Linked DNA regions of Homo sapiens: all the other regions are linked to region 1. Evidence: promoter capture Hi-C in 16 types of primary human blood cells and fetal thymus (Javierre and others, 2016). All regions are on one chromosome and are shown on one strand. Each heading gives the region's core, a stretch centred on a gene start or on the middle of the fragment in contact. The rest is flanking DNA. Distances are from core to core; before and after follow the strand shown. Region 1 holds the start of SST (somatostatin). Region 2 overlaps MASP1 (MBL associated serine protease 1). Region 3 has its middle 35 kb from the start of RTP4. Region 4 overlaps MASP1 (MBL associated serine protease 1). Region 5 overlaps MASP1 (MBL associated serine protease 1). Region 6 has its middle 12 kb from the start of RTP1. Region 7 has its middle 7.0 kb from the start of RTP1.

Region 1 (3,215 bases), core at 566-3,065:
TGTTCTTCGGCTGGCTCCTGCTTTGGAAAAATCCTCGTTTCCTACTCAGTGGGTATGCCAAAGACCACATCCTGGGTACAGGAGATATGAGATCATTTGGAGGTACCTAGAGACAGTCACAGTGATAGAACTAAACTCTGAGTCCTTAGAGGCCAGAGAGAGTTGCAAGATTTAGAGAATATAACATGTATTTCCTAGGACTGGGTTCCACAGCTCCAGATTCATTGATCTCTTAGACTACTCCAACACATGTGAATGACTTTTTAATGCCCCACTTTGTGCTTAGTCTTGGCTGGCCTTGTCAAGACCTGGAAACTTTAACACTTCTTGCTGTGCATTTCCGCTTTGCCTTGGATTACAAGCACAAAAAGAAATAGTGACAATTATTCAAGCCATTCAGGATACTTCCCAAACCCTTCTGCCTCTCAACACTGTGGTTCGGGTCTAAGTACTGAGAATATTTTAATACCTAATATGAGCTTCGCATGGTTTCCAGAGATGCAGCATATCTTTTTAGCTAATATTGGCTTTTTTGAAGCTCATAAGATAACAGCTCTTAAAGATCCTGTAGGGATCATCTCGTCCATGCTAGGAAATTAGCTGGTCCTTCCTCAGTAAGGAACTATTTAGATAAAAGCAGTCAGAACTCTGGCCTGAACAGTAAACATTTAACCAGAGTTCAATCAGAATTCAAGGACAGGTTTTCTTAAACTTTCTTTGTTTCTAGGAGATCAGGCAGAGCTGAATTTAACCAAGAATCTTTTGATCCTTTCCACATATAGATATACAATAGTGGTCACATATGTTCTGGGAGTTCCTAGACCTTATATGTCTAAACTGGGGCTTCCTGACATAAAACTATGCTTACCGGCCAGGAATCTGTTAGAAAACTCAGAGCTCAGTAGAAGGAACACTGGCTTTGGAATGTGGAGGTCTGGTTTTGCTCAAAGTGTGCAGTATGTGAAGGAGAACAATTTACTGACCATTACTCTGCCTTACTGATTCAAATTCTGAGGTTTATTGAATAATTTCTTAGATTGCCTTCCAGCTCTAAATTTCTCAGCACCAAAATGAAGTCCATTTCAATCTCTCTCTCTCTCTTTCCCTCCCGTACATATACACACACTCATACATATATATGGTCACAATAGAAAGGCAGGTAGATCAGAAGTCTCAGTTGCTGAGAAAGAGGGAGGGAGGGTGAGCCAGAGGTACCTTCTCCCCCATTGTAGAGAAAAGTGAAGTTCTTTTAGAGCCCCGTTACATCTTCAAGGCTTTTTATGAGATAATGGAGGAAATAAAGAGGGCTCAGTCCTTCTACTGTCCATATTTCATTCTCAAATCTGTTATTAGAGGAATGATTCTGATCTCCACCTACCATACACATGCCCTGTTGCTTGTTGGGCCTTCCTAAAATGTTAGAGTATGATGACAGATGGAGTTGTCTGGGTACATTTGTGTGCATTTAAGGGTGATAGTGTATTTGCTCTTTAAGAGCTGAGTGTTTGAGCCTCTGTTTGTGTGTAATTGAGTGTGCATGTGTGGGAGTGAAATTGTGGAATGTGTATGCTCATAGCACTGAGTGAAAATAAAAGATTGTATAAATCGTGGGGCATGTGGAATTGTGTGTGCCTGTGCGTGTGCAGTATTTTTTTTTTTTTAAGTAAGCCACTTTAGATCTTGTCACCTCCCCTGTCTTCTGTGATTGATTTTGCGAGGCTAATGGTGCGTAAAAGGGCTGGTGAGATCTGGGGGCGCCTCCTAGCCTGACGTCAGAGAGAGAGTTTAAAACAGAGGGAGACGGTTGAGAGCACACAAGCCGCTTTAGGAGCGAGGTTCGGAGCCATCGCTGCTGCCTGCTGATCCGCGCCTAGAGTTTGACCAGCCACTCTCCAGCTCGGCTTTCGCGGCGCCGAGATGCTGTCCTGCCGCCTCCAGTGCGCGCTGGCTGCGCTGTCCATCGTCCTGGCCCTGGGCTGTGTCACCGGCGCTCCCTCGGACCCCAGACTCCGTCAGTTTCTGCAGAAGTCCCTGGCTGCTGCCGCGGGGAAGCAGGTAAGGAGACTCCCTCGACGTCTCCCGGATTCTCCAGCCCTCCCTAAGCCTTGCTCCTGCCCCATTGGTTTGGACGTAAGGGATGCTCAGTCCTTCTAAAGAGTTTTGGTGCTTTTCTGGGTCCCTCAGCTCCCGAAGCTCTTGAGAAAACTATCAAAGGCTAGAATCCCCTTCTAACTCTTTTTTTCCCCCATGATAAGCGCAGTCGGTCACAGTTCAGGTGAGTTCTTACTTGGCATTCAAGAAAATTACAAAATCTGGGTAGTTGTCTGGGCACGAAGCGACAATGGCGTCTATCCCTGGTGCTGACCCTGGGAAGCGCTGACCCAGGTGCTGAAACGCAGACCTCTGAAGCTGCTACCTCTTAGCGTACCTCACTTCCAAACGTCGGGACTAGGGCAAAGGGGCAATCTAAAGACCGAACGCCGTATGTTTGAGATTGTGAGAAGTCTCGTTCCCCTACAGTTTACTTGGTAAAAATGGTAAAACAATTCTACTTTGTAGCTCGTGATGTGAAAATTGAATTAAACTGTTGGCACACACTTTATCTTACCAGAACGGTCTTTATGTGTGTGTGTGTGTGTGTGTGTGTGTTTGTGCGTGTGTGTGTGTGTGTGTGTGTGTTAAGTCTACAGGGACAGAAAGGTTGCAGAAACATTTGAGCTCTTAAAGCCTTTTTGTGTAACTTGGTAATTATAGCAACTATCCTTATTTTTATATCCTTGATTGATTTTAAATGTGACAAAAAATGCGCAGCTGTAAAAACTGGATTTTGTGTGTGACCAAATCTGTTCTTTAATTTAGGCTTTTCAAATTTTTTCCATTGTCCTCCCCACTTCTCTTTCTCTCTTTTTCTATCCCTTCTGCCCTATACAGGAACTGGCCAAGTACTTCTTGGCAGAGCTGCTGTCTGAACCCAACCAGACGGAGAATGATGCCCTGGAACCTGAAGATCTGTCCCAGGCTGCTGAGCAGGATGAAATGAGGCTTGAGCTGCAGAGATCTGCTAACTCAAACCCGGCTATGGCACCCCGAGAACGCAAAGCTGGCTGCAAGAATTTCTTCTGGAAGACTTTCACATCCTGTTAGCTTTCTTAACTAGTATTGTCCATATCAGACCTCTGATCCCTCGCCCCCACACCCCATCTCTCTTCCCTAAT
Region 2 (2,914 bases), core at 88-2,587, 420 kb after region 1:
ACTCTGCAAATTCTCAGAACGATACAAATTCCACAATCCCAAACTGTTCTTCACACTGGCTGTACCTAAACTATGCATTCTTAATCAATTCTGGTGGAGTAATTTCTGTATTTCCTGCATAAACTGTTTCTGCTTTGCTTGCTAATCTCTCTCTCTTTCTCTTCCTCTCTCTGCTTCCTTCCTCTGTATCTCTTGATCCCTCTTTGATCTTCACCATGGTGGCAGAAAATGAAATCGATCTGGAGAGCGAACTCAAGTCAGAGCAAGTGACAGAGTGAATGACGGGACCCCACACAATGCAGACATCCAGAAATGGATCACTCCCAAGACCCCTGGGGCCCAGAGCTGCACCACCCCTCCCCACCCACAACACCCCCGTGCCCCTTTCCATGTGGATTAGAATGGGTGCTGAACAACATGATCTCAGCAGTTGAAGCTGCTACGTGTGTGAAAGCAAATTCTCCACTTGAGGGTTTGCCCATCATTCAAACACTATTCCAGAAAATAATGAAAAAAAAATGTGGGATTTATTTTAGCACCTCTGAGTGGACTGTACTTTTCTCAACGGAAAAAAAAAATGCCCTTGGTCCTTGAGACAAAAGATTTAATATACAACCATGTGGCCTCAGGCTGACCAGATCAAAGTGGTTTCTAATCCATTCTACATGTCAAGTTTAAATGAACCAGACTGCCTGTGACTTTATGAATCTGAAGGTATTACCTGTTGCTGCTTTCTTAACCACCATGAGTAGGTAAAGCAAATAATAACTCACAGAGTGTGGATTTTTGAGAATCTGAATGTTTTCTCATTCACAAAAGTATCCCTTCTACCCCTATCTGGCGCAGGGCTGAAATGTCATCATTAGAGGTTCTGTCTTCTGGGGCTTACAAGTTCTATGTTTCTTAAAATTCGCTGATTAAAAATTTTAAAAAGATAGGATCACACCTGAAAGCAGTGGTCCCAGCTCTGTGCTGTGGGACATCACAGGTCCTAAACAGTGATAGAGAAAGGGCTGGGGAGTGGCAGCTGGAATCTCTGCTTCCGTCTGAACATCTGGACACACATGTCAGAGAATCTTTGCATTAAATGGACTGCCCGATCTATTTGGTGATTAAATGGCTGTGCGGTGAGGGGAGAACCCTGGGCAGTCTGGAGACTGAGGTGCCATTCTCGGCTAGAGACACCACCCAAAGAAGAGATGGGCTGGCTACTAAAGACAAGTGTCAGTTGAATAAATGTCTTTAAACCTACAACGTATTAACAGCATTCATACTCAGTGACATACAGGGCATCAGAATTTAAGAGGAAGATTTGATATGTACCCAAATAATTGTAATAGCTTTGATGCAGACAACATTAGATATATTCCATCAAAGAAACATGAGTGAAGAGTTCCAGAACAAGGAAGCAGCCCTGCCCAGTTAGAATTAGAAAGGCTTTCAAGAAGAAGGAGTGTTTCATCAGGACTTCAGGGTGGCCAGAGCATGGACACAGGGTGCCCCGTGCAGCAGGGATGGCACCAGAGAGGCCTGGGAGCAGGAGGCAGCAGGGGAGCACACTGAAGGAGCTGGTGTTCGGAGGGTGGGTGCACCAAGGGGAGGAAAGAAGATGAGGCCAGGGAGGGGGCTAGAGCCCAAACCCCCAGGCCTGAGTGCCAGGGTTAGCTGATTGCACATCGTTCTCTAGAAAGCCCCCCAGTACAGCAAAGCACACTTGGAACTGTAGGTCAAGAAATGTGTGTCTGGAGAAAAATAAGTGGCAACAAGAAATTACCATGGAGATAGGGTGTTGGGCGGTACCTCCAAGGCAAGGGGAAAGAGAAGGGTGTTTTGATTCCAGAGTGCGGAACTGGCCAGACAGGACTTTAGAGAAAAGGATAAAACCCTTCCTAAAGCAAAGAGCATAAGTCAACGGAGGAAGCAGGGTCTAGTGTGTGCTGATTGTGCCAGACAGAGCTGCTCAAGGCCTCTTGTGAGGGGTTAAGTCACTTCCATGTCCCAGAGAAACATGGCTTTTTCCCTGCCACTGTGGACTTGGGAAGAAAGTACGCCCCTCCACACTGCCAAGACCCTCTACCTTCCACTATTTATCACCCCCTCTACCTAGTTGTAGGGCCAGCTGTATCAGTGGGCAAAGTTACTTCTCTGAAGTGATGTGAAAGTAGGTCCTCCACCCAGAAAATATCTATCCGCCAGCATCAGCCACATAACAGGCTCCCAGGGGCCCGTCCATCTAGCCACACTAAAGCCAACCCTGGAATTCCTGAACTGGGCGGTCAGGTGGACCAAAGTTAAGGGAGATGAGTGATACCAATACCTAGGCACCAAGTCAATGGCATTTTCTGAAAAAGGAGGAAAAATCGGCTTTAACAGAAAATAAATTTAAAACTGTTCATAGTATTTAAATAATAAATATTATTGCCTCATTATCCTAGTGTTGAGCTGCACACATTTACCTCACAAAGTAGAAGAGCATCTGTACTTTTGGATCATCAAAACAAATGGAGATGATTTGTCCAGGGTGATTGGACTAGAGGCCAGGACAAAACCAGTTGTCTTGATTGGCCTTCTTAGTGGATAAGAAGTACCTATATTTACTCCCCTCCTTCATCTTTTCCTCCAACCCGGAGGGACTTGAAATTATTTGCATTTTGAGTGGACTCTCTAGCTAATCAAAAAGATGAATTTGGAGTCCTAAAGTTAAAATCACAATGTCTAAATGGCACTCAGGGATAAATTATATCTCACTGTTTCCCAAAATGACCAGGTAAAATTCAGGAGGACATGGAACTTTGGAAATTTTACCAGGGCTCTGGAAATTCTGACAGTTGATGTCCACCATTGGCCAGCTAGTACCTAGAATAGGCCATTTAACTGGAAAACAGATCCTTAAGAACCACTAGTTCCATTTACT
Region 3 (3,127 bases), core at 598-3,097, 340 kb after region 1:
AGTTGGGATCACATCACTGCACTCCAGGCTGGGCGACAAGAATGAAATCCCATCTCCAAAAAATAAAATAAAATAAAAAATAAAGTCTTTCTCCCTTACTATTTCATAAGTGCCATGAGGACAAAAACTGCCTAACTCATCACTGTTAAATCCCCCATACCTGGAACATAGCGGACATGAAATACACATATCTGATGACAGACAGATGAAATGTTGAATGTGTCTGACACATAGCTGGTGCTCACGAATATTATTCTCTCCTCTCCTCTCCTCTTTGAGAGTAGACCACTAAGCCCTCCACAGGCAGTGATCCCTCAGCACAGAGCAACACAGAGCAGAGCTGAGCTGCTGCATGAGGCCGAGCCCAGCCTCTCTCCTGGGTCCTGTGTGATCCGAAACCCAAGCAGCAGCCCCAAGTCACTCGAAGTCTGGTGAGAGTGATGCCCATATCAGCAGTTATCAATCCTGAAGTATTCAGTATTTAAGAATTTTCATCTGGAAATCTTTTTTAAAATAGTGGTGCCTTGGTCCTACTCATAGTGATTTTCATGTAGTTGGTCTGGAATGTGGCCTGGTCTTTGGTATTTTTAAATAATTTCCCTAGGTGATCCCAATATACAGTAATGGATGAGAACCACTGATCTGGTTCAATCACCATTTTTCAGATACAAAGGCTGAGGCGCGAGGGGGAACGGAGTTAGCCCAAGAACCTCCAATACCTTTTGCAGAGCTGGAGCTAGAAGTAGAAGAGCTAACTTTCCACCCACAGCTCCTTCCACTGCACCAAGTAACAAATTGAAATCCCCTTTATCAATAACAGAGGCTGCTTTCCTGGCATCAGACAAAGCTGGGAGCAGAGAGCTTGTTTTTTCACCCTAAAAGATCTGTTATTAAAAGCCTGTTTATGCAAGAAGGGTATAATTAAAAGTGAATGAGTGCCATTTTTTATCGCAATGAATATTAATTAAAGGAAAACACTGAGTCAATACTCATTAGAAAAAGACGGAGGCTGAAAGGCAGACTGCTCATACCAGGGTTGTCAATCACATCAAGCAGTAATGAGATGACAGGACCCTAATAGCAAAATGTTGCTCTATTTTCCTCAAATCCTCTTGGATTTAGAAGTTAGCCAAAATGCAAATCTCAGGCTAGGCTCCGTGGCTCTGCATTCTGCTTGGGCACAGGACTGTCTTGCCTAGGACACAGCCCTCCGTGGGAGTCAGGCTGTAAATGGTTTTACTTATGCAGGGTTAGAATGCTAGAGAAGTAAGTGGCCTCTTCAGCCTCCCTAGAGAGTGAGGGGCCAAACAGATCCAGTGATTCTTGCCACATTGTTCCTGTCCCTGAGCCCTGGGAGAAAGGCAAAAGCACAGACTTTCCCAAAGAAGAATCCTCAAGTCATCAGCAGGTCGCCAGAGCTGATAAATTAGGCTCAACTGGGAGGCTTTTAAAAATGTGTTTGCCAGGCCTTGCCTTGGTCCTACTGAATCTGAATCTTTTGGGCTGAAGAGACGTAAATGGGAGTAAGCATTTAACAGATTCTCATGTTAAACTCTGGTTTTTAGCCCAGCTCAAGATCTTTGCTTTCCTTTGTCAATTGGGGTCTTAGATGATTTTAGTCATCTAAGAATCAATCAATCATTGATTCATTCATTCAGCTGATAAATATTTATCTTCATTAGGCACTGTGCTAGTCACACGTGAAGACAGAGACTTGACCTCTGTTTTCTAGTTTCCTGTGGTTTAACAACAGAAATTACCATCGTGATGACTGCGCCATGAAGGAGGAACACAATGGTGAGGGAACACAGAGATAGGAGAGCTCAGCTCTGAATGGGGAGTCCATGAAGGCTTCTAGAGATGATGAATGGAGAACTAGGTTGAGTGGCATGTTCTCCCAGCAAATGTGCAGAGCCTTAGAGAGGTGGCTGGAGAATCCATTTTAACTGGAAGGCAGAGGGTGTGGTGTTTCATGAGGCTGATGAGTGCTGGATGGGGAAGAGCTCATGCCATGTAAAGGCATGTGCATTTCATCATGTCAAACACAAATTGTACCTAAATTGTCTGACGGAATACAAATATCAGCAAAGAGGAAAAGAAGCGAATGGTTCAGGAGACTGACACACACACTGGTGGGTTCTAGTGGGAGCACATGCAGAGACGGCAGGTTTAAATGCTTCTTCATTACACTGGACATTGGAACCAAACAAGTGTTTGGGGGAGTGATATGGTTTGGCTTGTGCCCCATCCAAATCTCATTTCGAATTGTAATCCCTGCATGTCAAGGGAGGGAGGTGACTGGATCATGGGGGCAGTTTCCCCCATGCTGCTATCATCATAGCTAGTGAGTTCTCATGAGATCTGATGGCTTCTTAAGTGTTTGGAAGTTTCTCCTTTGCTCTTCTCTCTCCTGCTGCCTTATGAAGAAGATGCTTGCTTCCCCTTCGTCTTCCACTGTGATTGTAAGTATCCTGAGGCCTCCCTGGCCATGTGGAACTGTGAGTCAAGTAAATCTCTTTCCTTTATAAATTACCCAGTCTGGGGTATTTCTTCATAGCAGTGTGAAAATGGACTAATACCGGGAATTTCAAAAGAAATGCCAGATAGGAAGGGCACATCCACTTAGGAGCCAAGATAGCAAATATTTAAGTAATAATGGAAGACAATTAAAAAAAGAGACCAGAAGTTCAGAGAAAGGAGTGATATCTTCCCAGAGAAGCTGAGTAGATCCTGAGCAGGCAGGGAGGAGAGGAAAAGGAATTTTAAGCTGGGCAAGTCTTGGCCCTGGGACCAGCAGCTGTGAGCAAGGGCCCTGACCACTATTGTAAACCGAGAACATCTTCCTGGGCTTTTTGACCCATGGCTGTGGACAAATGCCTAACAAATTCCTAAAGAGAAGGGCCCCATGTCTGGTTGCACCTGCACAAACAGAGCAGCAGGATGGGTACCAGTTCTGACCACCAGGAACAGGTGAGCTCCGCACTCATGTGGGTCCATGTGGAACATTTTAGAAGAGAGTAAGTGGATTCTATTTTTTCTGAGACTGGTCTTACAGAATTGGGGTTCCTCAGCTCTGGCAGGGCCTGCGGAGCTCCTCCATACCAGCTCTCACAACTCAGAGAGACGC
Region 4 (3,030 bases), core at 69-2,568, 410 kb after region 1:
CTGCAGGTGATAACCATTTATCTGATTTATCTGCCATTATGAAAAGGTCCTTCAGCCCAGACGTTACAAGGAGGGAGGTCATTTATCACAGACCCTCAGTAGTATCTCCCTAATCCAAATGACCAGTGTGTTCACTTGAAAATGTTCATGTCCCAGTCACTGCAGAACCCAAGAGGCACTGGGGATACCAAGTTCCAGAAAGAAGCCTGTGTAGCTGGAACTATTAATGCCCAAGGCATGACTATTCATTATTAACAAATTCAAGTTCATCCGCAAGCAGTAATCCTGCATATGTTAAAACTCCTGCTTACCATCTTCTGGTTGGTTTATATAATATATGACTATGATGATTTGTTAGAACTGTGTTAGACTATGATGACTGCTATGTCTGGAATTGGAAAGGAATCTAGAGCTCAGCTAGTCCAAACCCCTGTTTTTACAAGTGGATAACTGAGAGCTAGAAAGGAGATGGCCCAAAATGCAGAATACGGCAGTGTCAGGAACAGGACCCAGGACCTCCAACTGCCAGGTTCCTGTATATCGTATTACTCCAAAGCAGAGGTCACCAAGATGGTGTACTCTAGTTCATGCAGTTACTCACAGAAGAATCCCTTTCCCAGGCCCTCATTCTAAATCTATTTAGCTTTTTTTTATTAAGTTCTAGCAAAAGCAGTTAACTGGTTTCTAATTCACAACATATTAAAAATAAGCAGACAGAAAAGTACAGTGAATAGGCTGATAAAAAGACAGGAAATAAAACATGACATAAAGAAGACTTCAGAAGTTCAAGGCTTTATAGTCCGGCAATGTTTAACGCCAGGTCAAGCGACATTACACAACTCAATATCCCCAAGATTATCACTTTAATATAGTATCACAATGGTTGACATTCATAACAATGTCCCTGGATCACCAAGAAAGGGTTAGCATGTTTCACTTGAGAAAGTGGGTACTTCTTTAAAGTACTTTTTTTTTTTTAAGTGTTACACCAAAAAGAAAATTTTTAGTTATAGTTAGGTAAAGCTTTGGCTATCTGGAAAACTGAGTCAGATAAAATAACACAGCAGCTGGGAGGTTCAAGGAAGTGACATTTCAGCTGTGTGCAGATAGGCACATTCTATAGTAACAAGACTGGTGTGAGTTCGGCTGGTATCTGCAGAGAAGAGGAATAAATAGCAAAGCCATGATCTCATCTTCTGTTTACACTTCAATTCCCAAAGTTAGTGATTAATTGTACTTGCGTTTTGTTGCCAGGGCAAATTGTTTTTCTTTGAAACTCCCACTTATTTTAAATAAATAAACCATTAGTTTCAAAACAGGAGTGTCAAATGTCAAGATATTTCTGACATGCTAAGCTAACGAACAAAACAATGAATTCATTAGAAGCTACTAGAGATAGCCGCCTTTGAGAACTTTTCTCTAATGACTTTGAAAGGCAGCAGGAATCATTCTTGGTAAGAGATTTTTTTCATGCATCTTGGCTAAAATTTGGTCCAGAGGTTGCAAACACAAATACAACTTAAAAGAATTGGATTAGGTATAAGATAATCGAATAGATACGTCAAGAATTTATACTCAAATAAATATACCAACTAGCTATCATACGAAGCTTCCCAAACTCCTGTCTCACATAAAATCAGCTTTAAGCCACCAGTTTAGGATCTCTGCTTGGATCTCTGAATTCGCACAGGGCCTCTGGCTCTTCCAAAGAAGGGAATTCTTTTAGCAAACAGGCATGTTTTTTGCATCTAAGTCTTAACACAAACATGTACACACAGAGATACACACTCAAACTATTTTTGGGTGATTCCAATAAATAGTTTCTGTATTAAGACTGCCTATTAAACATTAGTTTTCATTACATGACTTTCCTGCTTAAAAGTTTTCAGTGTCTTCCACTTACTCACAGAATTAATGGCATTCAAGGTCAACCATAATTTTCTTTCCATGTATCCTTCCAAGTACATCTCCTCCTACAATCCCCACAGACTCCCTGGCTACTCACTGTTCACAGAATGGGGCTTGTACTTTCAGTTCTTGTAAACAAATGTTTATTGGATAACTATTATGTGCCAGGTCCTGTTCCATGCACTGAAGACACATCTATAAAGAAAATAAAGTCCTTCTCTCCTGTAGCTTATATTCTAATGTGGATTGTTTGCCTGCTTTGAGTGCATATGCAGTGCTTCTGCTTGTGTGAAAGCATTTGTCACACTGTGTAATACCTGCCTGTGTCTGTGTTCCTCAATCTCAACACTGCTATTGTGTGCACAGCACTGTGTCTATCTCTCATCACCTCCATCTCATGCTTTGCTCGGCAGTAGGCACACACTGGATACTCAATGAATGACTTATATTGTGTATACAGTTTCCATTCTTTGGAAATGTGGTAAGTTCCTGTTGTGCAGAGAATCTGTCTGCGAGGTTATCTAACTTTTTAAAACTTTCATATTGAGTTATTTTTAATAAATAAGCTGCTTGGTTATTGACAGCAACAACAAATATCAAGCTACTTCTAATGGAACTAAATAAGACGAATGAAACTGATCAGATGTCCACATTGAATTAACTTGTAATGCGTCTTTTCTCAAGAATCCTTAACCTCCTTTCTTTGGGTTTCTCAGGCTGACTAGCCTACTCTTGGGTGGCCCCTTCCTTTTTCTTTCTAAAGATAAGGAAAGAAGCCTAGCTGGGAAACTGCTCATCTTGTTCCCTTTCTCTTTGACCTCAAAGGTAGAAACTGAGGACCAGGTGCTGGCAACCTTCTGTGGCAGGGAGACCACAGACACAGAGCAGACTCCCGGCCAGGAGGTGGTCCTCTCCCCTGGCTCCTTCATGTCCATCACTTTCCGGTCAGATTTCTCCAATGAGGAGCGTTTCACAGGCTTTGATGCCCACTACATGGCTGTGGGTAAGTTGGAGAAGTGACTCATCCTCAGGTCTCTCTCTCTCTCTCCGAAGATGAAAACTGCCTTGTGACCTCTCCTTTACGATGGAAATCTGTGTGTGCACCACATAGATTTTACCATT
Region 5 (2,821 bases), core at 1-2,500, 390 kb after region 1:
TCCCCTAACTGGGCCAGGCTCTCTTCTGGGATTTAGACAAGGCAATATGAAATTAGACCCTTCCAGGGTGGCATATAGTAAGAGAGACACACAACATCACAATGGTATGAATTCAGGTCAAGGTGGAAAGCTAAGTGCAAGCTGATGGGTAGAACTAGAAAGGTCCATGAAGGAAACTGAAGCTGATTGATAGAGTATGACTCAGCCCAACACAACATCCCTTCTTTCTTCCTGTTCTCAAAGCCTTTAGTGTTTCTACCAGCCTCTGTTCCAAGATCACCTTTAATTCAACAAGCAGAAAAGGGCAGAGACCTCAGAGTAAGCAGTAATCATGGAAAGAGAACCATAATTATGTCCAAAGTTGAGGCATTAGAAAGCATTGTCCAATTTCCCAAATAAAGATCAAGTATTTGGGAAGTGCAGGATATACAGTAGTAAAGAGTCAGAGATGAAGTAGGAAGGTGAGTGGAGGCGAGATTCTTAAGGGCCTTGAATGTCATGCCAAGTAGTTTGCATTTTATCAGCAAAAAGTGTGGGTAGGAAGGGGACGGTCACCATCAGAAGTAGATGTAAAAAGTAAATATGGGGGAAGAGCAGGACCACATCAAAACAATATACCCTGGAATTTAGAGAACCCCCCACAAAAAAAAAAATTCCATGGGTGGGAAGCTGTTCTTCTTTTAAAGTGAGGCTGAAAAAGGTCAGAATATTTCTAAGGGATCAAGTTTATTGCAGTTATATCTAGTTAAAAAAGACGTGGAGACCTAAGAACCTACCTTCTAAGCTCTCTCCAGCTTCCTGAAAGAGGTTCTCATCAAACAACTCTAGAGCATTTAGATATTTTTAGTATTATTGTAGACTCATTATTCCATAGCCAGTAATTCAACATGAATTAACCTTGTATTAACCAGAATATTTGGTCAACAGCAGAGAAGTGAGTTTACAAGGTGCTTTTACAATTATAATCTCAATCAAACTTTAAAACAATTTTGAGACAGGAGCCATGACCCCATTTCACAGGTAAAGAAGTAACCCAGGAAGGTTAAGCAACTCACCCAAGGTTGTACATCTGGTAAGTGATGGATTAAGGTCTCAAACCCATGCCTTGTGTTTTTGAATCACATGCTCTTTTGTCTACACCAAACAACTCCCAAGCTATTCTCCACTGAGCCTAAGATACAGCAGAGGCATACAAAGGCACTGTGCTTCCGCTTATTTTATATGTAGAGTATTGTCATTGTATATGTTGGGTCTGCCTGCAATGTCCCATTTACAATAGGTCTCTGCGTCTAAAAATTTTCCAAAATTGGTGTTCCATGGTAGGGATTTTTAACCTCAGCACTACTGATATTTTGAACCAGATCATTTGCTGAGAAAAGCTGTCTTGAGCATTGTGGGATTTTTAGCAACATCCCTAGCTTCTACCCTAACTAGGTGCCAGTAGCAGCCCCGGCCCCACCAGTTATGGCAATCATAAATGTGTCCAGATGTTGTTCAATGTCCCAGAACCACTGCTATATGGGATGATGCCCTCTTAGAATGCCCTGTGCTAGGGACGGTGGAAATTTTAGGACACAAAAGATCTGGTCCCTTAAAAAGAAAGATGAGTCTTGAAAATAGCCATTGCACAAGATAGAAAACAGTGATGGCAATAAAGACTAACTGATAAAGAATGAGAAAATGTGGAACTGGTTGCTCTAAGAGACAACGCGGATTGGTAATCTAGATGCGATTTCTACAAATTCATTAAAAATAGAACAAATTTCTCAGGGTCACAAGGATCAACCAGGGGGGTCTTCACTGAGGCCATGAGTATGTATCATCCTAAACTGAACTTTCTGACAAAAAGGCCAGTTACGCTTTTCAGGATAAAAGGGTTATCCAGAGTTAAACTCCAGGATAAGATGGATTGTAGGTATGGGTCCTCAGGCTAAGTGGAATCTCCCGGCCCATTCCCCCAAATAATGTTGGTCACAAAATCATGGCATTCTTTAGTATTTTGGTTGGAGAGTTGTCTTAACCGGAAGAAAAATTACCAAACACTGGTTTAATATGACAATAAGTTCCATGGATTTAGACAAGGCTAGATATGAACTTTCTAACCACATTTTTCTCTACTTTCAAACATGCTAACCATCTAGAAATTTTGTCAGTGCCAATAGCTTTTATTGGTACCTGAGGCTCAAGATCACAGAAATTATAGAATTTTTTTGCTCAGTTGTAGGGATGACTTCTTCTCATAATTTGCCCCCTCTCCTCCTTAAGATTTGACTCTTAACTTCATAGTCATTGAGAAACTCTTTCTCTTAAGTTTGATTCTTTTTCAGACAGAAGACAAATTTAACCTTGTTAGGTCTCCTTCATCAAGATGATAAACACACAAGAGAGGATTTAGCTCATTTCTTTGCTCCAAATAAGTGGAGTATCCAAGGAAGGCAGATGAAGCAGCTGACATAAAGCAGCATTTTGTTAATGGGAAAAAATGATGATACTTTTCAAGAGCAATAATATAATCTGAAGACCTCTTCTAACACTGAATTAAAGACACTGGAATAGATTTCTATCCAAAGCTTGACTTTCTTGGCTAGAGAATATTTTGGAAATTGGTTGATGGTTTCTATCTAGAGTGGTGAGACTCCTTCCTGAAACCACAAGTAGATGGACATGGGCCCTCTGGAAGGGGCAGCATGGTCCTGGGCCCTTACATGGAATTCAGGAAATGCCTTTTCTGGTCTCAGATCTGTCACTAACTCCCCAAATGACATGGAGTGGAGAAGAATATTATTTTACAGCACCCTCTCTGCTCCAAAATTAGACAGAT
Region 6 (2,916 bases), core at 288-2,787, 460 kb after region 1:
TAAGGAAACTGATATCTAGGGGAGAGGAAAGACTACGTCGCCCAAGGCCAGCAGCCTAGATAATGGTTAAACCAGGTCTGAAACCAAGGTTTTCTGACTCCAAGGCCAATGAGCTCTTCTATACCACAACCACTAATGCAACCACCTCTACAGGACTCTGTAACAGCATAGTCATATAACAGGCGGATTTCATTTCCCTGGTGCATGTGGCAGTACCCAAGCAATGCCAAAAATGACTCCAAAGGAAATTCCTTAGCTAGGAGTCCCACAGAGAACCAGAATGGGACTTGGAAAAGAACTAAATTCCTCTGGAGTATTCCAGCCAATGGGAAGGGAGCCCAGAAAATTACTGGTGTTTTCTGTTTAAAGAGATGTTTTTAAACAGCTATCTTTGAAGAATGAAGAGTGACCATCGTGCTTCTGGAAAAATGAAATCATTGCTTTGAAATAAATATGAGGGAAGAAAATAAATAACTCTACAGTTAATAAATAAACCATTTCAAAGCTGCAAAATTAACCCTTGCCTTTTTTTTTTTTTTTTTAAGTATTTACCAACCAAGCTTAACTGAAATCATAGAGAAGGAAGAGCCTTTCAGGACTCAAAGAGGAAGCTGCAAATTAGAAGGGAAAGAGGATGAAAGAAGAGCATGAGCATTCAGTGAGCATGTGCCCTATAGCAGGCATTATCGTAGACAGAGTATTCTTTATTCCTGGCAATAGCCCTCCAAGGCAGATAGGATTATTTCCATTTTGATGAGGAGGAAAATGAGGCTTGCTTGAGGTTACAGAGCTGGTAAGTAGCAGAACCAGCACTCAAGTGTTTTCTGACCCCAAATTTCATGATCTTCTCTTACCCCATGATATACAATGCTAGTCAAGTTTCCTAATTTCTCTGGGCTTCAATTTCTCATCTGCAAAATAAGGGCCCTAGCTCAAAGCATCTCTAATTTGTCTTATAGCTCTGATAGTCTATGGACTTACTATGTCGGACATATTCCTTCCTTGGCAGTCCTCTCAGTTCTCAGGGCTCCTGAACCCCAGAAGGAATCCTCCCATTGAGCTGGTCCTCTGTCAAGATGGGCATGAGGAAAGCAATAGAGATAACAATTTTTCTCAACCCTACACCAAGAATTTCAGCCTCTGGAACTATAATTCAGTGCTTGTAGTTCTCTTCCTGGCTTGAACATCAAGACAAGCAAACAAAAGCTCCAGTGGGAGAGGCCCAGGATCCAGGAATTTCCCTGAGGAGTTTATTTATAACACATAAGATACATCTAACAAGTTCATTATGTGGCATGTGGCAATGTGTGCAAAGAAAGAACTATCACAGAGAAATCTTTGCCAAGACAGAAGCAAAGCCCATGAGCAAACCCAGAATTCCCCATCTGCAGCAAGTATAAGAGGCAGTAAGAGAGGCAGGTGAGGCCTCCTTAGATTGAAACATCTTCCTAGCAGATCAGGAAGAGTCTTGGGAAACAGTTCTGGACTAAAACTAGGTGAGACTTGGATGCTTTGCTCTACCATCACCTGACAGTAGGCCCCGGGGTTAGTTACTCCCACACTCTCACCACATTTTGTCATTTTTGAAATGAAGTGATTGAGCCTCTAATGGTTCTTCCAACTCTAACATCCCATGACTCTGTAAATACTTGCTTCCCTAAGTAGACTTTGAGAATCATAAAGTCTTGCAGTTGGAAGGAGACCCTATGAAATGGAAAGCAGAGGGAAATATACTTGTTCTTAGCAGGAGCATCTATTCTATTCTTGAATGGATAAAATGAAGAGGAAAGAGTGTAGGCTGGAAACGGAATGAGTTGGAATTAGCCTGGCAAAGAGAAAAGAGGAACAGATGGAACAGCATGTGTGAGGTATCATTATGGCCCTGCGTGGAGGCCGGGTTGTAGGAAGACAAGAACAGGGAGAACAGTTGAGTGTGTTGCAGTGAAATGGCAGACGAGGCAGATCCAAACCCATGTTCCCCTCATAGAAACATTAAAACAACCAGAAACTCAATGAAATTAACTTTATAGGAGTGTTGGAAAATGGTAAAAGGTCCACAGCAAAGAAGTGAAGGCTCAGTCAAGAAAAAGCCACATTCAAAACATCAGGAAATTCATGGTGTTTTTACTCACCCTTGACCCACACTTTCCCTGGTGTGGCACAGGGAGATGCAGCAGCCCATGCCCAATATCCTCCTTTAGAACAGAAGGAGCAGATCAGACCTTATTTGCAATGTTTTAACATCTTTGTGGGGCTGCCTGGAGGGCTAATCTCCCTCTTTAACCTAGGGTCGCAGGCATGGGAGTCTGCTTTAAAAAGCTCCACAGACACCTGTGGCGAGACATTACAGGTGGAGCTACACAATAGATCATCTAAGACCCAGAGGAGAAGCTGGAGTGAGACTCTGGGAAATGAAGACATTCAAAAGCAGGCCTGTATACTGGGAAATTGAAAAAGCCATAGGCCCAGTCAAGATGCATGCTCATAAAAGAACTGAAAAGACTTTAAGCTTTCACCTCTGGCTGATCCCTAGGTACAGGGCACGCCCAGCTAATTAGTGAAGGGCTTCTCTGGCACAAAGCCAGTCTGCAAAGACTGGAAGAGGTGGCTATACTCCAAATGCCCCATCTTGAACAACTACAAAATTACCTAAAGAATTGAAAGCAAGAATTCAAACAGATGAATCATTGCCCACTAATGTTTGTGGAAGCATTATTCACAATAGGCAAAAGGTGGAAACAATTCAAATGTTTTTCAATGGATGAATGGAGTTTTAGGTATCCTGTTAGAAGCAACAGAAAACAGACTAAGAGAGAAAATTGCTACCAAGGAGTGGGGTGCTGCTTGTAATGAATACCTGAAAATGTGGAATTGGCTTTAGAATCAGGTAATGGGCAGAGGCTGAAAGAATTTGGA
Region 7 (3,128 bases), core at 343-2,842, 480 kb after region 1:
ATTCACCATTATGGTATTTCTCCACTTGGGTCTTTCCTTTTAGCTGCTCAGGCTTCTTCACTACATGGTAGTTTGTTTCCAAGAAGATTCATTCTAGGAAGAATAAATGGAAGCTTCCAGTCCTCCTTAAGGCTAGAGTCAGAAGTCCCATAACATCACTCCTGTCATATTCTGTTGATGAAAGCAATCACAGGGCCAGCCCGATATAGGGGAATGGGAAATAAACTTCAACTCTTGATGGGGAAATTGCCTGTGCCTATAGGAAGGGAAGGAATTGGTGGCAGCCATCTTTGGAGACTTTCTACCACAGTACCTGATTATTTTTCTTCATCCTTCAAAGAGCTTAGTGCCTTGAGAACACGATGTCCAATTCTATGATGTAGGTAGAGGTTGACATTATTTTGCAAAAAAAAAAAAAAAAAAAAGCAAACTAAGGATCAAAAAGGCAAAGTAGCCAAAGAGTAAACTAATCCAGCAAGTCCAATCCCAAAACATAGCCAGATAGGAACAGTAGGGCTGCTCCCTTTGGGTCAAAGCAAAGGAAAGCATTACAGGTACCCAGCCTGCCAGTACCACCCACCTCTGCATGCCCAGTCATGATTTATAAGAACCTCTTCCTTTGCTTCCCCTCCACCCCAACAGCAACCATTGAACTTCTTTTCCAAGCTCTTGCTCAATTTTGTGAGGCATATGTGCCTACCATCAGCGAGGGCCCTTCAGAGATATACAGCCCAAAATCCAAAGTCCCCCAGTCTTCATTCTCTTGAAGTTTTATCCCCATAAAACTCTGTGTTTTTTTTTTTCAGAGATGGGTTCTGTCTATGTTGCCCAAGTTACTCTTGAGCTCTCAGGCTCAAGCAATCCTCCTTTTCAGCCTCCTGAGTAGCTGGAATTATAGGCACACATCACTGTGCCCAGTCTATGTGTTTTGTTTTTTCTATGTTTGTTTTTTGAGACAGGGTCTCACTCTGTCACTCAGACTGGAGTGCAGTGGTTCAATCATGGTTCACTGCAGCCTCGATCTCCTGGGCTCAAGTGATCCACCCACATCAGCCTCCCAAATAACTGGAACTACAGGCATGCACCATCATGATCAGCTGATTTTTTAATTTTTTTTTTTTTTTTTTTTTTTTTTTTTTTTTTTTGTAGAGGTAGGGTCTCACTGTGTTGCCTCGGCTGGTCTCAAACTCCTGGGCTCACGTGATCTTCCCACCTCAGCCTCCCAAAGTTCTAAGACTACAGGCATGCACTACTGCCCAGTCTCTCTGCTTTTTTTTTTTTTTTCAAGTGCAAGATCTTGTCTTTGAGAAGAGCATTCATCAGAAAATGTTCTATGGATATTACCAAGGGAACAGTGCCATGGTCCAGGAAGTGAAGAAGGGCATACTTGAGAGAAATTATCAAGTCCTCAAAAACTAATTTCCCTATTTTCAGGATATTTGATCTAAAATAAAAGACAGCTTCCTTCCCCTTATTCTGAAGAAGGGGCAAGGCAACATTACATGTGGGGAAGCAACAATGTTATTCATTTATTTGTTTTTTAAAACACTCTGAATTATCAACTACCATGTGCCAGGCTCTATACTGGACACATGGGATATAGAGATAAATTAGTCTCACTCATTTCATGTCCAGTGAACATCAATAGCCAGGTGACCCACACTAACCCAGAGCCTTTGGCTTAGGACATGAAGACTGACCCTTAAGCATGTTCCTGTTGCCAAGCAGCCACTATTATGGGAACGTATCTTCAGACTGTACCCCCAAGAGATTCTTCCTGAAGCAGTTTTGGAAAGATATGCAACCGTTCAACCCTAATAACATTTCATGGAAGGTCTAGTAGGAAATGAAGTCACTGTACATTATCAGACCGTCTTACTGTGGTTGAATGGCATACTCATGGAGTTCAGAAGACAGGACACAACTTTCCTTTACTCTTCCATCAAATCTCCAATAGGTCCACTGAGAGTCCACCTAGAATGCATGTCCAGAACTTCCCCTTATTTTTTCTGGTCTCCTTTCTAGGTCTTCTCTTTGATCTCTTCTGCTCTTCTACTTTCTCTTCAGGACCTTGCTTCAACCTTCGGTGTAGAGTATCTATAAGCTAATAACCTTTCTCCCACTAATACTGACCACATTCCATTGCATAGCTGTCATTTCTTACTATGCTAACAAAGTTTATGTCCCTTTATTCTATTATATCAAAGACCTCTACTCACTAGGGTAAAAAGAAAGAAAGAAAGTGGAGGAAGGAGTAGAAAAAAATCCATTCTGATGCACACTTGCCCTCCTTCTGAGCATGATCTTTCCAAGAAAAGCAATAAAACAAGAAAACTTGGTCCTCTCTTTTGCAAATGAGAGGAAACCGCTCTGGACAGCAGATGTGTATTTCACAGTGGCCACAGAATAAACCTGAATCACATTTGCATTCAGTCACTTTGGCTGAGTCTCTACCATATGACCTGAAAATACAAAGATGTATAGAACAGAATTATGGAGTAAAAGGGATCTTGGAAATTATCTAGTCTAATCCTAATCAGATGTGCCAGTGACTCTGAGACATTTCATATGAAGACATAAATAGGTATAAAATAATCAGATTTTAATTTAGTGAGAAGATGGTTCTTCATATAGAATGAGGAGACTTCACTGTCTATCTTTAGACAGACCCAGTGATCTGGGATTAGGGTTGCCTCTGAAATTGAAGTAATAACCAATGCCTATTGAGAGCCAAGCAGTTACCTAGCCTGAATGTGAACATTTCCAGTGATGTGGAGCTCGTTATCCAGTGATAGCAGCACTCTCTAACCCCTGGCTATTAAGAAGCTCTTCTTTACTGAGTGCCACCATCTCACTTTCAAAACCTTGACTCTCTGTGCCTTGCAATAGAAAGCACTTAACAACGTGCCAGCCCACAGTAAGCAGGCAGTTAATATTGACTACTTTTGGGAAGTGAAAGGGGTGTTGTGGTTTTATTGTTACCACTATTAAAGCCTATGTTTATAAGTTGTGAAATTCTGCATTGGCAGAACACCACTGGCTTGTTTTAGTCTTTAAACATGAAAGCTTTTTTAAAGAATACCTTGTAATGAGCTGAAATGCAACTTTAGGAGAAAGACAGAGCACTA

The links. Contacts are between HindIII fragments. The CHiCAGO score rates a contact against its expected background, and 5 or more counts as called.
Region 2: a fragment that was not itself captured here is called in contact with the fragment with the promoter of SST in region 1 in 1 of 17 cell types (M0 macrophages); the score reaches 5.3 in M0 macrophages.
Region 3: a fragment that was not itself captured here is called in contact with the fragment with the promoter of SST in region 1 in 16 of 17 cell types (M2 macrophages, M1 macrophages, M0 macrophages and 13 more); the score reaches 14.8 in M2 macrophages.
Region 4: a contact is called between a fragment that was not itself captured here and the fragment with the promoter of SST in region 1, in 6 of 17 cell types (megakaryocytes, endothelial precursors, M2 macrophages and 3 more). The highest score is 8.6, in megakaryocytes.
Region 5: a fragment that was not itself captured here is called in contact with the fragment with the promoter of SST in region 1 in 6 of 17 cell types (M2 macrophages, M0 macrophages, megakaryocytes and 3 more); the score reaches 7.8 in M2 macrophages.
Region 6: a contact is called between a fragment that was not itself captured here and the fragment with the promoter of SST in region 1, in 6 of 17 cell types (megakaryocytes, M0 macrophages, M1 macrophages and 3 more). The highest score is 13.2, in megakaryocytes.
Region 7: a fragment that was not itself captured here is called in contact with the fragment with the promoter of SST in region 1 in 4 of 17 cell types (M0 macrophages, M1 macrophages, endothelial precursors and 1 more); the score reaches 8.0 in M0 macrophages.

What each region holds. Positions count from the first base shown.
Region 1 is chr3:187,668,994-187,672,208 of GRCh38, reverse strand. SST (somatostatin) reads left to right here and starts at 1,815. Exons shown (of 2, transcript NM_001048.4): 1 at 1,815-2,055; 2 at 2,932-3,215. The coding sequence starts at 1,918. The coding sequence ends at 3,144. The HindIII fragment of the contact is 4,322 bases long and covers 1-3,215 here.
Region 2 is chr3:187,244,697-187,247,610 of GRCh38, reverse strand. The region is part of intron 8 of MASP1 (MBL associated serine protease 1); the gene reads left to right. Among named protein-coding and RNA genes, the nearest start is that of MASP1, 46 kb to the left of the region's middle. The HindIII fragment of the contact is 7,784 bases long and covers 1-2,914 here.
Region 3 is chr3:187,331,470-187,334,596 of GRCh38, reverse strand. No RefSeq gene overlaps it. Among named protein-coding and RNA genes, the nearest start is that of RTP4, 35 kb to the left of the region's middle. The HindIII fragment of the contact is 4,956 bases long and covers 1-3,127 here.
Region 4 is chr3:187,262,424-187,265,453 of GRCh38, reverse strand. It overlaps MASP1 (MBL associated serine protease 1), which reads left to right. Exons shown (of 11, transcript NM_139125.4): 3 at 2,734-2,911. Among named protein-coding and RNA genes, the nearest start is that of MASP1, 28 kb to the left of the region's middle. The HindIII fragment of the contact is 586 bases long and covers 1,026-1,611 here.
Region 5 is chr3:187,282,989-187,285,809 of GRCh38, reverse strand. The region is part of intron 2 of MASP1 (MBL associated serine protease 1); the gene reads left to right. Among named protein-coding and RNA genes, the nearest start is that of MASP1, 7.3 kb to the left of the region's middle. The HindIII fragment of the contact is 2,645 bases long and covers 1-2,572 here.
Region 6 is chr3:187,208,049-187,210,964 of GRCh38, reverse strand. No RefSeq gene overlaps it. Among named protein-coding and RNA genes, the nearest start is that of RTP1, 12 kb to the right of the region's middle. The HindIII fragment of the contact is 1,949 bases long and covers 563-2,511 here.
Region 7 is chr3:187,188,955-187,192,082 of GRCh38, reverse strand. No RefSeq gene overlaps it. Among named protein-coding and RNA genes, the nearest start is that of RTP1, 7.0 kb to the left of the region's middle. The HindIII fragment of the contact is 2,953 bases long and covers 116-3,068 here.